2 separate regions of the Homo sapiens genome follow, and region 2 is linked to region 1. The links are contacts of gene promoters, found by promoter capture Hi-C in blood cells and fetal thymus (Javierre and others, 2016). All regions are on one chromosome and are shown on one strand. The core of a region is centred on a gene start or on the middle of the fragment in contact, and the rest is flanking DNA. Distances in the headings are between cores, read along the strand shown.

Region 1 (6,918 bases), core at 276-2,775:
CCAGATGGAGAGCTCCAGGTCAAAGCTGGGTTCTTGAATCATAGCTTCCTAATCTTGATCACGGAATAAGTGCCAAGCATATATAAAGTAGACCATTTACATAAATAAATTAATAATCATGGCAACTCTAGAAGATACTTAGTGAAAAAAACCCTTGATTGTCTTTGAACCAATCAACTAAAATAACATGATGAAATGGAGACTGGGCTTTGAATCAATTTGGAGTTTGCCTGGTTTCATAATTCATGGTTCTTCTCATGTAACTAATACAAAGTCCAGCTTCTGACATTGTAGGAGCTCAGTAGAGGTTGAACAAGCTACAAATGTACACGGATAGGTACCCTCTCCTAAGATGGGCAAGTGGAGGCTCCTCTACCTTAACACTATTCATTTTTCCTCCAAAATAAATTGATAACTAAATTGAAGAGCAGATACTCACAAAACAATATCATGAGACTTTACAACATCACAGATGATTTTAGATATTCAGGCATATTAGGTCAATTAGACATACGAAGTAAATAACTGAATGTTCTTGGGCTAGACGGAACCTCCGCTACAAACTAGCACTGAATGAAATGTGTCAGTTTTGAAAAAGGAGGTTTTTATACATTACACAACCTCTAAGGGCACTTAACAGCTCTAATATGTTTTATCAGGGCCCACTGCAGCAAAATTTATTTTATTGTAAAGCAATATTTTATGCTAAAATAAAATAGTTCTAAAAGTTGTTTCCACCCCTCTTTATGAATAACTTCTCACTTCTCCATGGCGAAAGAGGACTGACCACAGCAAAAATTCGGTGGAAACCAACAGCTCCTGGAACACAAAAACTGGGGTTGTTTATAATCTCTCCACCCTGAATATCTAGCACCATTACTATATAATAATAGGTGCTCAATAAAGGTTTGTTAAATAACTTTATTTTTAAACCTTAAACAGATACTAGAAGAGTCCATAGTTGATTTCTGGTCATGCAACGGTTTATTTCTATATTGTAAGTTATGTATTGTTATGTATTATTTCTGTATTAAGAGAACTGAGACCACAGTAGCAAACATCATTTAAAAAAAAAAACAGCTCTATATAGTTTGCAAAAGCCTATTTTTTAAAAGTTTAAATGAAACAACCAACGTTTTGAGTTGGGAGGATGTCCTGTTCTCTCTTGGGAGTTTTCACAACCAGCGAAATCAGTATAGTTACCACTGTTTTACGTACAGAGAACAAGAATTAGAGGCTATCACTAGCCAGAGCACAAAGTGATCTTAGGTCTCCCTCGAGACAAAATCCACTGGCGTGTGGATCAACTGCTTGCAGAGAGCATCTGCTGCCGAGGCCAATAGGAGCCGTGTGTACTCAAGACCCTAACCAGGATCCTGCAGGTCCCGCCTCCGCAGCCCCACGGGGCTGCCGGCCCCCCCACCTCCCATCGCGAGCCTGGCTGCGCCGGCGTGCTTGAGCCCGGTGACTGCAAGGCCCCGGGTCTCCCCTGCGCCTGCGCGGCGAGCAGCTGGCGGAACCGGCATCTTCTGGCGCCAGCTTCCGGCTTAGCGGCTGAGCTTCAGGCTTGACGTCAGGTGGGAAGGGTGTGGGGTGGCAGGTGGGGGCGGTTGGGAGGTTGGGGGGGGTTGGGGTGGGGGGGGTGGGGGGTGGCAGATTGACGGTGTGGGGGGAGTCAAGTGGAAGGTGTGGTCCAGCAGGCGGCGAGAAGTCTGTGGGGCAACAGACCGGGGGAAGGTCTGTGGGGCGTCAGGCGGGGTATCTGTGGGACGTCAGGTTGGGGTCTGTAGGGCGTCACGTTGGGGGTCTGTGGGGCGTCAGAGGGGGGAATCTGTGGGGCGGCAGGTGGGGGGTGTTCGGGGCGGGGTTTGGGGTGTGTGTGGCGGCAGGAGGCGGGGGAGGTCTGTGGGGCGTCAGGTTAGGGTCTGTGAGGTGTCAGGCGGGGTTTACGTGGGGTGGCAGGTGTGGGGTGTGTGGAGAGTCAAGTGGGGGGTGTGGGGCGTCAGATTGGGGGTCTGGGGGATCAGATGGGTGGTGTCTGGGACGTCAGGCGGGGGTCGGGGGGTCGTCAGGCGGGGGATGTGTGGGGAGTCAAGTAGGGGAAGTGGGGCGTCAGATTGGGGGTCTGGGGGATCCGGTCGTGGGGGTGTCTGGGACGTCAGGCGGGGGGCCTGAGGGGCGTCAGGTGGGGGGGTCTGGGAGGCGTCAGGCGGGGGTCGGTCTATGGGGGCAGCAAGCAGGGTGTTTGTGCAGCGGCAGGTGATGGGAGTTGCCGAGTCCACAGCGCTGTAGACTGCGCCGCATTAGAAGCCTGGCCTCCTGATGCTGTGCTCTTCATCTAGACCCAAGCCCCAGGTCGTGGGACGATTTCTCCCGTTTTTGACTCCCTGGAACTGTATTGCCTGCTTTACCTGCGTACATGTTGATTCTTTCTCATGGCAACCCCGCAGGAAACCATCAAGATCTCATTTTACAGCTGGGATTCTCTGGTTCACAGAGGTAACGGAGCTTGCCCGAGGCCAGGTATTCACTGGGAATCCGTGAAGGGTTGGGGGAGAGTAGGGGGAACGGGCAGAGGAATGATGTAGACTCCTTAGGGATTTTCCATTTTCCGAGAGGGTACAGGGGGCATTGGAGCGGGAGAGACTTTAGGCTTGGAGGGAATTACTTTATTTCTCTTCTTACACTTGGTCTTTCATTAACTTTTGGGATCCCAAAGCCCTTCTAGCGTCTTTGTCTGCTCATTTCTTTTTGCTGAGATTGTCCCAAATTGTCACTAAGTGCTGTGGAAGATAGGCAGCTGTAAACCCTTTGTTTCCTAGGGAAACACAGCTTGTCAAGGGTTGCATGAAGGATACTTCAGTTGCATTCGTCACTTACTCCTTTTTTTCCTCTCTCTTTTTTAAGTGCAATAGCATAGCACTTAATCACCTTCCATAGTCACTGAATAAAACCTGCCGGTTTATTTTCATGTGTCACTTCAGGACAATTTAGTCAGAACTGAATGAATGATGAATCGTTATTGTGTACTAATTGCTTGCATTCATTCTCCTGAAAGCTTTGCTTATTGTTAAAGAGTGAAGCTTCTTCCCACCTTTTTATCTCGTTAATATTTTGCAATATTTATATTTTAAATGTTGCTTGGATCAGCAAGCATTATAGTATTAAAATTATCAAGACTTACTACTTTTTAAAGCACATTTTGTAGATTATCTGATTTTTATCTTCATTCTAATTTCTACATAGTTTTTAACCCCATTTTATACTTTAGGAAACTGAAGCTTAGAGAAATTAAGTAATTGCCCAGTATCACACAGCTGTTAAATGTTACCATCCACATTTGAACTCAGATTTATTAGAGTCTAAAACCTGAGCCCTAACCAGGAACCTCCTCATTTGTCTTACTGCAAATGGAATGAATCAGCTAAAATCCTCAGAATCCAAAAAATAAAATTAGCATGTAAAAATGAATGGAAGTCCTAATCTTTGACTTTTTATGCCGTTGTAATGAGCAAAAATACTTACGACTAGTTTATGGCAATTTTGGAATCCTTGTTATAGGCGTAGCCATTTTAGGATACATGTGTATCCACACCATTACCTACATTTTGTCATTATAAAGTAATTTAAGTCCTTGCCTGGGATTTGTTGAGCGAAACTTTAACTTTGAGACCATGTAGAATCTATAGATATATCTGTAGAAACTATATACCAATATTTGAATATTAAAGAAATATTAGTTAACCTACTTTATTTTACATAGTTTATATAGAAATTGTAGATATAGCATTGTGTACCCTGTTTACTCCCTTGAGGGAGCAAATTTTGGGAGATAGGGCAGTGAACATACATAACCAGGTGTTACAGTCAGTTATGCAAACCAGATTCAGAGAGAGGAAACAACAGTATATTCAAAGATAAAAGTTTCAGGAAAGTGGTCTGTCATGCGTTTATCCCTCGATCTAACCCACTCAGTAGAAGCTGGGTTTCCTTTGTCAGAAATTAGACTGAGAAGTGCACCTTTTTTCTCTATAGGCCACCAAATGGCTGTTGTAAACCATTGCCAGGGCAGTCAGAGCTACTGAATATTTTTAACCAAACTGAATCTCACCCACTGTGTGTCTGCGTGCGTGTGTGAGTGTGTGGTATGTAACCAGACCATAGCTTTCCCTAGTGTGCTTATCCAGGAGTCAACTCTAGGTGTTCAGTAATTCATTCAGCAAACCTCCTACATGTCTGCCACTAGAGCACAAATTACAGCACAATTCCTGGCCTCTAGATACTGACAGTATAGTAAATGTAGTATTGTAATTAGCCATTTGATTTATTTTACTGGATACTAGATAATGTAGCCTTGTGCATGTGTGTGTTGCTCATTTGTTTGCGAATTGGAAGATGGGGAGTCACATATTTTCTGCACTGTAATAGATCTCCCCACTCCCAGCAAAACTTCTCCAACTCCACTGCCTGGGATACATGGTGGTGTGCCAGGAGGGGTCTGAAACCACAGGATAAAACATAGTTTCTATTCATGGACCATACATTTTACTTGAAATCTTTTTTTGGAAAAGTTATTTAACATTACATAGTTTAAACCATATTAAAATTACTCTAATATATTTATCTTCCAGTAGAACTTGTATGAATATTTAAAACTAAAGAAATTTACACTTGTGAAATTTTAGGAAATATTCTTGCCCTAGCTTAGCAAGGTACCCATTATTTCTTCTCTGACTTTAGCAGATACTTTAGGGAAAAGCTCTCCCCTCAGGACATTTTACGTTTGTTTTATTTTGTTAAAGCACTTGGCATTTTATTATACTCAGTTTCCACTACACTCCCCCCCTTTTTTTCTTTTCTTTTTTTTCTTTTTTTTTTTTTACAGAATATATTTTCTTTTAAAGCAGAAACATGCAGTATTTTCCCCTAGCACAGTGTATGTAGCACATCTCATATGTAGTCATTAAATACTCAGGGAATAACTGGCATGGAAATATGAAAAAAGCAGCATACTAATAAATTTATACTTATAAGACAGTAAGTAACTATGGTAAAATAGATAAAGTGAGGATTTTATGGGTAGGGCATTTTGAGTTGGAATCGAATGCTGGTGTGATTTGGCATAGCTAGCAGTGAAGAAGTGAAAGGAAACATAGACGTAGGCTTTGTTTGGCTGGAAGAAGAGGGTACCTGTTTTTTCCTTTGTTTTGTTTTTTGGTCAAGGGCCCTGCCTATGATTAGGATTTCTAGGAAGTCAAATTTCAGTTCAGCAAATGAGTGATTTGTTAAAAATATCTGTTCGAAGATCAAGTTCATTTCTGGTGCTATGTGGTAGTCTGACAGGGAAAGAAGAGACATACATGAAAGGCCTTCCCTCAGAAGCTCAGAAGTGAAGTGAATTAAGCCTGATGAGTTTTTTTGTCACCATTATTAGCAATATTTGTTTGTATTATGTGCTAAATAATTAATACATAGAATAACTGGAATTTAAAGAGAAAATTAAAATGATTTCTGTATTATAAATACAGGAAATACAGCTATATAGCTGATGATACTTTTCATAATAACTTCAAATTAGGGTTGGAGCAAAACAGTTATTAAATGTAGAGGTTGAAAAGATACATCATTTAGAGCATTGATCTTTTTTTTAGTAAACATTAATAAACATTTATTATGATCTCAGTGATCTTTGTAAGATCTTTACATTAAATATTTAGTTGAATCTTATCTTTTACTTAAAGTTATTCTCTTTTTGCTTTACTAGTTAAACGAGAAGATTCATCACCGCTTTGATGGCTGCCTCACAAACTTCACAAACTGTTGCATCTCACGTTCCTTTTGCAGATTTGTGTTCAACTTTAGAACGAATACAGAAAAGTAAAGGACGTGCAGAAAAAATCAGACACTTCAGGGAATTTTTAGATTCTTGGAGAAAATTTCATGATGCTCTTCATAAGAACCACAAAGATGTCACAGACTCTTTTTATCCAGCAATGAGACTAATTCTTCCTCAGCTAGAAAGAGAGAGAATGGCCTATGGAATTAAAGAAACTATGCTTGCTAAGCTTTATATTGAGTTGCTTAATTTACCTAGAGATGGAAAAGATGCCCTCAAACTTTTAAACTACAGAACACCCACTGGAACTCATGGAGATGCTGGAGACTTTGCAATGATTGCATATTTTGTGTTGAAGCCAAGATGTTTACAGAAAGGAAGTTTAACCATACAGCAAGTAAACGACCTTTTAGACTCAATTGCCAGCAATAATTCTGCTAAAAGAAAAGACCTAATAAAAAAGAGCCTTCTTCAACTTATAACTCAGAGTTCAGCACTTGAGCAAAAGTGGCTTATACGGATGATCATAAAGGATTTAAAGCTTGGTGTTAGTCAGCAAACTATCTTTTCTGTTTTTCATAATGATGCTGCTGAGTTGCATAATGTCACTACAGATCTGGAAAAAGTCTGTAGGCAACTGCATGATCCTTCTGTAGGACTCAGTGATATTTCTATCACTTTATTTTCTGCATTTAAACCAATGCTAGCTGCTATTGCAGATATTGAGCACATTGAGAAGGATATGAAACATCAGAGTTTCTACATAGAAACCAAGCTAGATGGTGAACGTATGCAAATGCACAAAGATGGAGATGTATATAAATACTTCTCTCGAAATGGATATAACTACACTGATCAGTTTGGTGCTTCTCCTACTGAAGGTTCTCTTACCCCATTCATTCATAATGCATTCAAAGCAGATATACAAATCTGTATTCTTGATGGTGAGATGATGGCCTATAATCCTAATACACAAACTTTCATGCAAAAGGGAACTAAGTTTGATATTAAAAGAATGGTAGAGGATTCTGATCTGCAAACTTGTTATTGTGTTTTTGATGTATTGATGGTTAATAATAAAA
Region 2 (6,967 bases), core at 3,464-5,963, 700 kb before region 1:
TAGCATTCAAAATTTGACCTTTACTCACAAATGTTATCCTGCAGCACCACAATCATTTCCACCATTAATCAATACAAAAAGAGATTCAGAATAACTTTTTGGATTTAGGAACCTAGCTTTTCTGGGACTAAACCCATCTAAGCTATTTAAAGTATGCTGAAGATAAACAATGAATGACTATTTCTGGCTTTCATTAAATCTCAATTCCCAAAAGCAGAAATTACATTCGTTCCCCAAATGTAACGTTTGTATAATATACAAAGGGTAAGAAAAATTGAAATAGCCCTTGTAAAACAAACAGCTGCTGGTGAGGGGGTTAGGGGGAAGCAGTCAATATAGGAAGAACCGTAAGTGAAAAAGAAACTTTTGGTAACAAGCATTTGTGTTTGTGTTTCTTCATTTTTCTGTTTTTATTTTAATTTCTTGGTTTGGATTTTTGTTTTGTTTTGTTTTTCTCGTCTGACTTTATGGAGAGCTCGCCATCTTGTGGAATTCCAGATCCGTGCAGTCTTACTGCCACAGCTCAAAATATAGAAACCTACAGACTTTTTTTCTTGTTGTTTTAATAATCTGTGGAGGAAGATGCTTATGCAAAGTGTTATAAATACTGTTTTCATGCAGCTAAGCCTTAGGAGGTGATGTCTATATCTGTATCACTTATATTCTAAAGTTAGGCACACGTCCTATCTGCTGTTTCTAGATATCATTCCTATGTTACAAACAGGAAAGTAGTTTTACATTCATTTTATGCTGAAATAAACCTCCATAAATTTTCATGTGATACTTTCAACATTTTTAGTTCTAAAAACAGAGTCAAAGCTAAACAGCACTTTTGTAGCTTTAATGATAAAACCAAATTACAGGTCGGGCGCAGTGGTTCATGCTTGTGATCCCAGCACTTTGGGAGGCTGAAGCAGGTGGATCACTTGAGGTCAGGAGTTCAAGACCAGCCTGGCCAACATGGTGAAACCCCGTCCCTACTAAAAATACAAAAATCAGCCAGATGGGGTGTCATGTACCTGTAATCCCAGCTATTCAGGAGGCCGATACAGGAGAATCGCTTGAGCCAGGGAGGCAGAGGTTGCAGTGAGCCAAGATAGCACCACTGCACTCCAGCCTGGGCGACAGAGCAAATAAAAGAAAAAAAAGGGAATTACAGCAATGTTTTCTTCTCTCTGGAGGTCTAATCACATAAGATACGATAAGTATTGAATATGCCTTTAGCTCACAGTTACTGATGCATGTATATTTTATTTTGATTCATGTATCTAGTGAGTTGCTATGAAGGAAGAAGAGAGAGAATGAATTTGAAGGAAGAAGGCTTGTAAGTTTTGTAGTGTTTGCTTTAGGACTTAGTGTACTTCATCCAAATTCCACTAAAAGCTACACTGTGGGATAAGTGAGTGAGCAAAGAGATGCTGTGTTCATGTGGTCACATGTAGGCTGGTTTATTCTACATCATAGGAATAGCAATATTATTTTGAAAAACATCAGACAAGAAGATGTGACAATAATAATGCCATTCTTAATAATAGTAGATATACTACATATAATATAGTAAATATAATACATATATTAACAATAGTAGATACAGTAATTATTAACAATAGTAGATATAATTATCTACTTAATAATAGTAGATATACTACATATAATATAGTATATATAATACATATATTAACAATAGTAAATACACTAATTATTAACAATAGTAGATATAATTATCTACTTAATAATAGTAGATATACTACATATATGTAGAATCAGGCAGCCCCCAGAATCACAGCAGATTCAGAGAGACTCCAGGGATGCCTCGTGGTCAGAACAAATTTATAGACAAAAAAAGGGAAGTGCCATAAAGAAATCGGCAGTGAGGTATAGAAACAGCTGGATTGGTTACAGGTTGGTGTTTGCTCTATTTGAACAACTGAACACTCAGCAGTCTATCAGTGGTTGAAGTATGGCCGCTGGGATTGGCCAAGACTCAGCTATTGTTACAGGCACATACACCTAAGTTGGGTTTTCAGTCTTGTCTGCCTATTAAGCTAGGTTATAGTTCGTCCACAAGGACTCAAATACAGAAGCACGGAGTCCTCCTCCAGCCATATTTAGTTTGCTTTAACATATGGTATTGAGCATTTTACAAATAGCAATATCCTTTACCTATGGGTACCAATTTTAAGGAAGGGATTCAGAAGACCATCAGTTTGTGAAAGGTTAGAAAGCTCGCAAATTCAGGTTTACATTTCTAATTGTGAACAAGCCAAACAGTTTCCAAAACTATGGAACTTAATACTCATAATTACCAAATAAAGATTAGATACCAACCTAAATTTAAACATTAAACAAATATGAACTTCTCAAACCCAACCGACATTGCAAAAGTGAGAAGATCCACCAACATTATAAATGTGAGAAGACCTGTATAACATAAACAACAAAAAATACTGTATACATACTATGTTATAACTTGAAAAACAGCTTGCTTTACCGTTAAAGTTTTCCTGTGAAATTGTCATTGTACAAATGCTCCAACTGATGTATTCATGAATCTGGAGGGTGGTGGGTGGTGAATATTTTCATGGAAAATGTTGTTTTGCACCCATTAGATACTTATGATACATTTCAATAAAATAACTGCTTTGTCCAAGAGAACTGAATTATTCACGATCTTCCTAAGTTCTTTCCTGTTGGAACTCCTCATAAAGTCACCCCTGACTGTTTGACTTTCTAAATAGCCTAAGTGACTCCAAACTCTTTTTTGCAAAGAGAAATGAATGTCAGAATTGAAGCTCAATACAGAAATCCTTGTTTTCTCCCACACACTCACACACTTCAACAGACTCATCCAAACCACAGATCAAGAAGTTAAATTGTTTATTTAAATTATAGGTTACATTATTCCTTTTTCTTCATCAGTGGCCATACGTCTGCAATGCCAAGCACATACCCACGTGCACACACACAGACACACACACATAGACACAGATGCACTCTAAGCTACGTATCTGCTTGAGGCTTTGAGCTGTTGCTCGTTAGAAGGATTGGGAGCAGAGAAACCCAAAACTCTTCTCTTCCTCACAGGCTATCTCTCAACATGCAATCCCCAGAATCCAGTTAGGTGCTTCCTCCCAGGGTCAACATGTTCAATTAGCGATGTTCAAGGTAGAAAATCACAAAGTTAATCTCAGGTGGTGGGTTTTGTCAATACTGCTGCTGCATAAAAGGTATTCACTTGAGTACAAGCTTCTTCATGTCTCTGGCTTTGATTTCCTCCTTTATAATATAAAGGGATTTGATTTAAAATATTTCTAATGTCCTAGAAGCTTGGAATTTTTATATTTCTATCACTTTTGCCTGGGTTACCATACTTTAATATTAGCTTTTTCTTCTAAACTTCTATTGTATTTTGGGAACAGAAAACCCTAAAACAGTCTTTCTTTGTAAATAAAACACAATTTTGATAAGGCCTTTTACACTTCCTGACTACTTTCTACCTACACAACATGACAAACCATATCCATAGCCCTGGATGTCTTCACTGAAATTTAATGATAATAATTAGTAATGTGATTGTAAATTAGGCCAATTCATTCTCTTCCTCTGAGCCCACCTGCACTATCACTCACCCCTCACAGCAGTGGCGGGACAGAGGTTGTCCTGTAATTTCTCCAAGCAGTTCTAGGAGTTCAGCCTCACATTGGCTCCATCACACTGGAAAGTCCCTCCTCTCTCCAGTACCCTGCTGACACTCCTGCATCTCCACCTTGCTGTCTTAAAACCAGCAGGACTGGTTCTCTGGCCACTCTTCTCCTCCCCAGCACCCTGGTTCCCTCCTAGCCTTGTCACGAGGTAAATGGCACAATAACACCATGTGTTGCTCAGGCCACAGCCACAGGAATCATTCTTGATCTCTTTACCTCATATCCCTTGTTCAGTGCATCCTTCAATCCTGACCTTCCTACCTTCAGAGCATAACCCATGTTTTCCCATTCCTCATCGCCTGCACCACCATTACCATGAGTGCTAACACCACCTCCCCACTACCATACCAGGAATTTAGCTCTCTGGTTCCAGCTGGGAATACCATAGGGACATCTCCACAGATGCAAATCACCTTCGAAGTGAAAACCAATTCTCTTGCATACTCAAAACCCCCAATCACTTCCAGACAACTCTGAAGGAAATCTAAATTTCTGACCATGGCTGTTCTTTTCATGTTGTCTCTATTACCCTCCCTCTTTCCCATACAACTCTAATCTGAGATCCTGGCCTTCATGTTGTCCCTCAAACATTGAGTATGTTTCCTCAGGCCCCTTGTACACTTCCATCTCCCTTGGACACCACATCAGATCTGTGAACGGCCCTCTCTGGTGTCTCTACCACAGGTACTACCTGGTAGGAGGCTCTCGATTAACGTATCTAAAAGCAGGACACCCACCTGCTCCTCTGTTCCCCAACCCTCATTTATTTTTCATCATATCACCTCAACTATTACCAACCTGTTTATTAATATCTCCCCAACCAGAATATAATGGCTTCAGATGGGGAAATAGCACAGCAAAGCAGAGAGAACTGGAGATATTTTTTTGCAGGCTTAAAGCAGCCTATGTGTGTACTCAAGAGGAGGGCTTGCTGGGGAAGTTGCCCCCCGCCAATTTGTTCTCTCAATAAGCACTTGGCCTTAACCACTGTCTTGACTACATGAAGGTGAGTGAAGCAACCCTTCTCTCTCTCTGTGTGTGTGTGTGTGTGTGTGTGTGTGTGTGTTTTCTCCTATAGCATCCTTTTTCTCACAAAAGTTCTCCTAAAATTGTGCAAACTCACACTGTTCCCCTAGATCTAATAATAAACACCCAATAAGCCATAAATCAGGTATCAGCAGGTATCTGAAGTCAATCCACATGTCCTCAGAGTCTAGTTCCCACCACCGCCCCCCACCGCCACTGAATTGAGTTTGGATCAGAATCCAATTCTCTCTTGTGCTCTTTTCCCACCAACTTCTCTTCAGAACAGGATTCATTTCCCATATTGTTTCTTGTTCTCATCCTAATGCAAATCTGGACCCATCCCTGTGGCAGAGACACACTAAACCAGGCAGTTAGCAGAAGTGCAAACATTGAGAATACATTCTTCACTCACTGTCTATACAGCCTGTCACTCCCATCATTCTCCTATGACCAAGGCATCCTAATTTTAACACAAGTGCTTTCTGCCTCCATTAAAGGAAATCAGCCCCTGAGGTTATGTGTGCTGTGCATCTTAATCCATGATGTACCTTCATCCAACACCAATGAATAATCATACTTACTCAAATAACATTGCCCATTATCTCAAAACAGGGCCATGGATTAGGAGTGCATAACTCATGTTATAGCCAAAATACTTAAAAGGAGTATAGGAGTTTATATCTGCACAAGTTTTTTCTGATCTGAAAACTAGTAAAATATAAGTTTGTTCACACACATACAACTTCACCCATTCAAGAAACAGTGGGAACCTTGTTATGTGGATGGTTTCAACCTAACAGTATCCAACAGTTATCTTTTACTCACCATTTTGTCTCTGAAAAGTAAGAAGATAATTTAAGACTACCAAATTGCAATCACAATTTGAAGGCATAGCTTTTAGATACAAAATACTTAGTCACTCACCGGTGTGCACATAAATTATTAAGATGAAGTCCATATTTTTCTTCAGCAGATAACCCATCCATCAACAAGTAGAAAATGAGAAAATTGCTCTGGCCAAGAGGTTGTGAAACAAGTCTGGATTTCTCTAGCAAATATGTATAAATTCTGGCTGGTTGGGAAAAGAAAAGTGATTCTGTTAAATGGCAGTATTCATTTCATTTCCATAAATTAACACATATTAATTAATTACAAGAGATACAAGGACTGTTGAGTTCTCCCTTTCCCATCTATTTACATTTTATTTTATTGTCTTTTTGCATTAGCTAGGACTTTCAATACGATGCTGAAAAGACATGGTTTAAGGGGACATCCTTCCTTGTCCCATATCCAACAAAGAACTTGGTGCACAAATGTAATTTGAAACAAGATTTGCTCTTGTCTGTAACAAAGGCTTTGAAATAAGCTTTGGAATTTTCCTCATTAATATCCCACTGTTTGAGAGTCCCGGCCATGTTGGTATGATGGATATTAACTTACACTGTTCAAAAAGTGCCCCACTAAAGGCACTGATAAGCATTCCCAGCAACTAGATCAGAATTATATATGGCTGCACTATGAAGGCCCAGGGAGACAGACCATGGTCCCTCACTGCCAGAAACACTGGAGGAAACCCACTGCAGCAAAGGAAAATGCAATTTGAATTCACACAGATATAGTTTAATACACATAATGTATTTGAGGATGAGGTAGATGAGGTGTCTATTAAGTAACACATGTCCAGTGTGAACAGTGTGTAGTCATCTTCTTTTATTCTCACCACACATGTGCGGTAATAGGACTACTAGCTGATGTTTATTTAGTCCTCTGTTTTCAAAACTTTACAAAATAAAATAAAATATAACCCAATGCATAAATACAAGGTGTTGAAATTTATTTGATAGTAGTTGATCAACAACGCCAAAAAGATGCAATATGGTAATCACAGCCTCAATTTTGCTTTACATATGAAGATCAGCAATTCAGAAGCTAGCGTTGGTCAAAATTATGACTGTATGTTTGGCATGCTGAAAATTTCATTGTTTCTGGAGCATTTGAAATATTAATATAGGTTTATTTTTATCATTATGAATAATCAGATTATGTATTTCAATTATATTTTTATTTATTTATTTATTTATTTATTTTATTTTATTTTTTTTGAGACACAGTCTCACTCTATTGCCCAGGCTGGAGTGCAGTGGCACGATCTTGGCTCACTGTAACCTCTGCCTCTCCGGTTCAAGTGATTCTCCTGCCTCAGCCTCCTCAGTAGCTGGGACCACAGGTGTGTGTCA

The links. The method cuts DNA at HindIII sites, captures the fragments that hold promoters and counts their contacts. A CHiCAGO score of 5 or more calls a contact.
Region 2: a fragment that was not itself captured here is called in contact with the fragment with the promoter of LIG4 in region 1 in 7 of 17 cell types (M0 macrophages, M2 macrophages, M1 macrophages and 4 more); the score reaches 17.8 in M0 macrophages.

Annotation. Positions count from the first base shown.
Region 1 is chr13:108,210,143-108,217,060 of GRCh38, reverse strand. It overlaps LIG4 (DNA ligase 4), which reads left to right and starts at 1,525. Exons shown (of 3, transcript NM_206937.2): 1 at 1,525-1,577; 2 at 2,451-2,523; 3 at 5,765-6,918. The coding sequence starts at 5,793. RefSeq lists a silencer at 1,323-1,462 and an enhancer at 1,306-1,600. The HindIII fragment of the contact is 5,824 bases long and covers 1-3,060 here.
Region 2 is chr13:108,908,838-108,915,804 of GRCh38, reverse strand. It overlaps MYO16 (myosin XVI), which reads right to left. Exons shown (of 35, transcript NM_001198950.3): 16 at 5,655-5,802. Among named protein-coding and RNA genes, the nearest start is that of MYO16-AS2, 190 kb to the left of the region's middle. The HindIII fragment of the contact is 2,770 bases long and covers 3,329-6,098 here.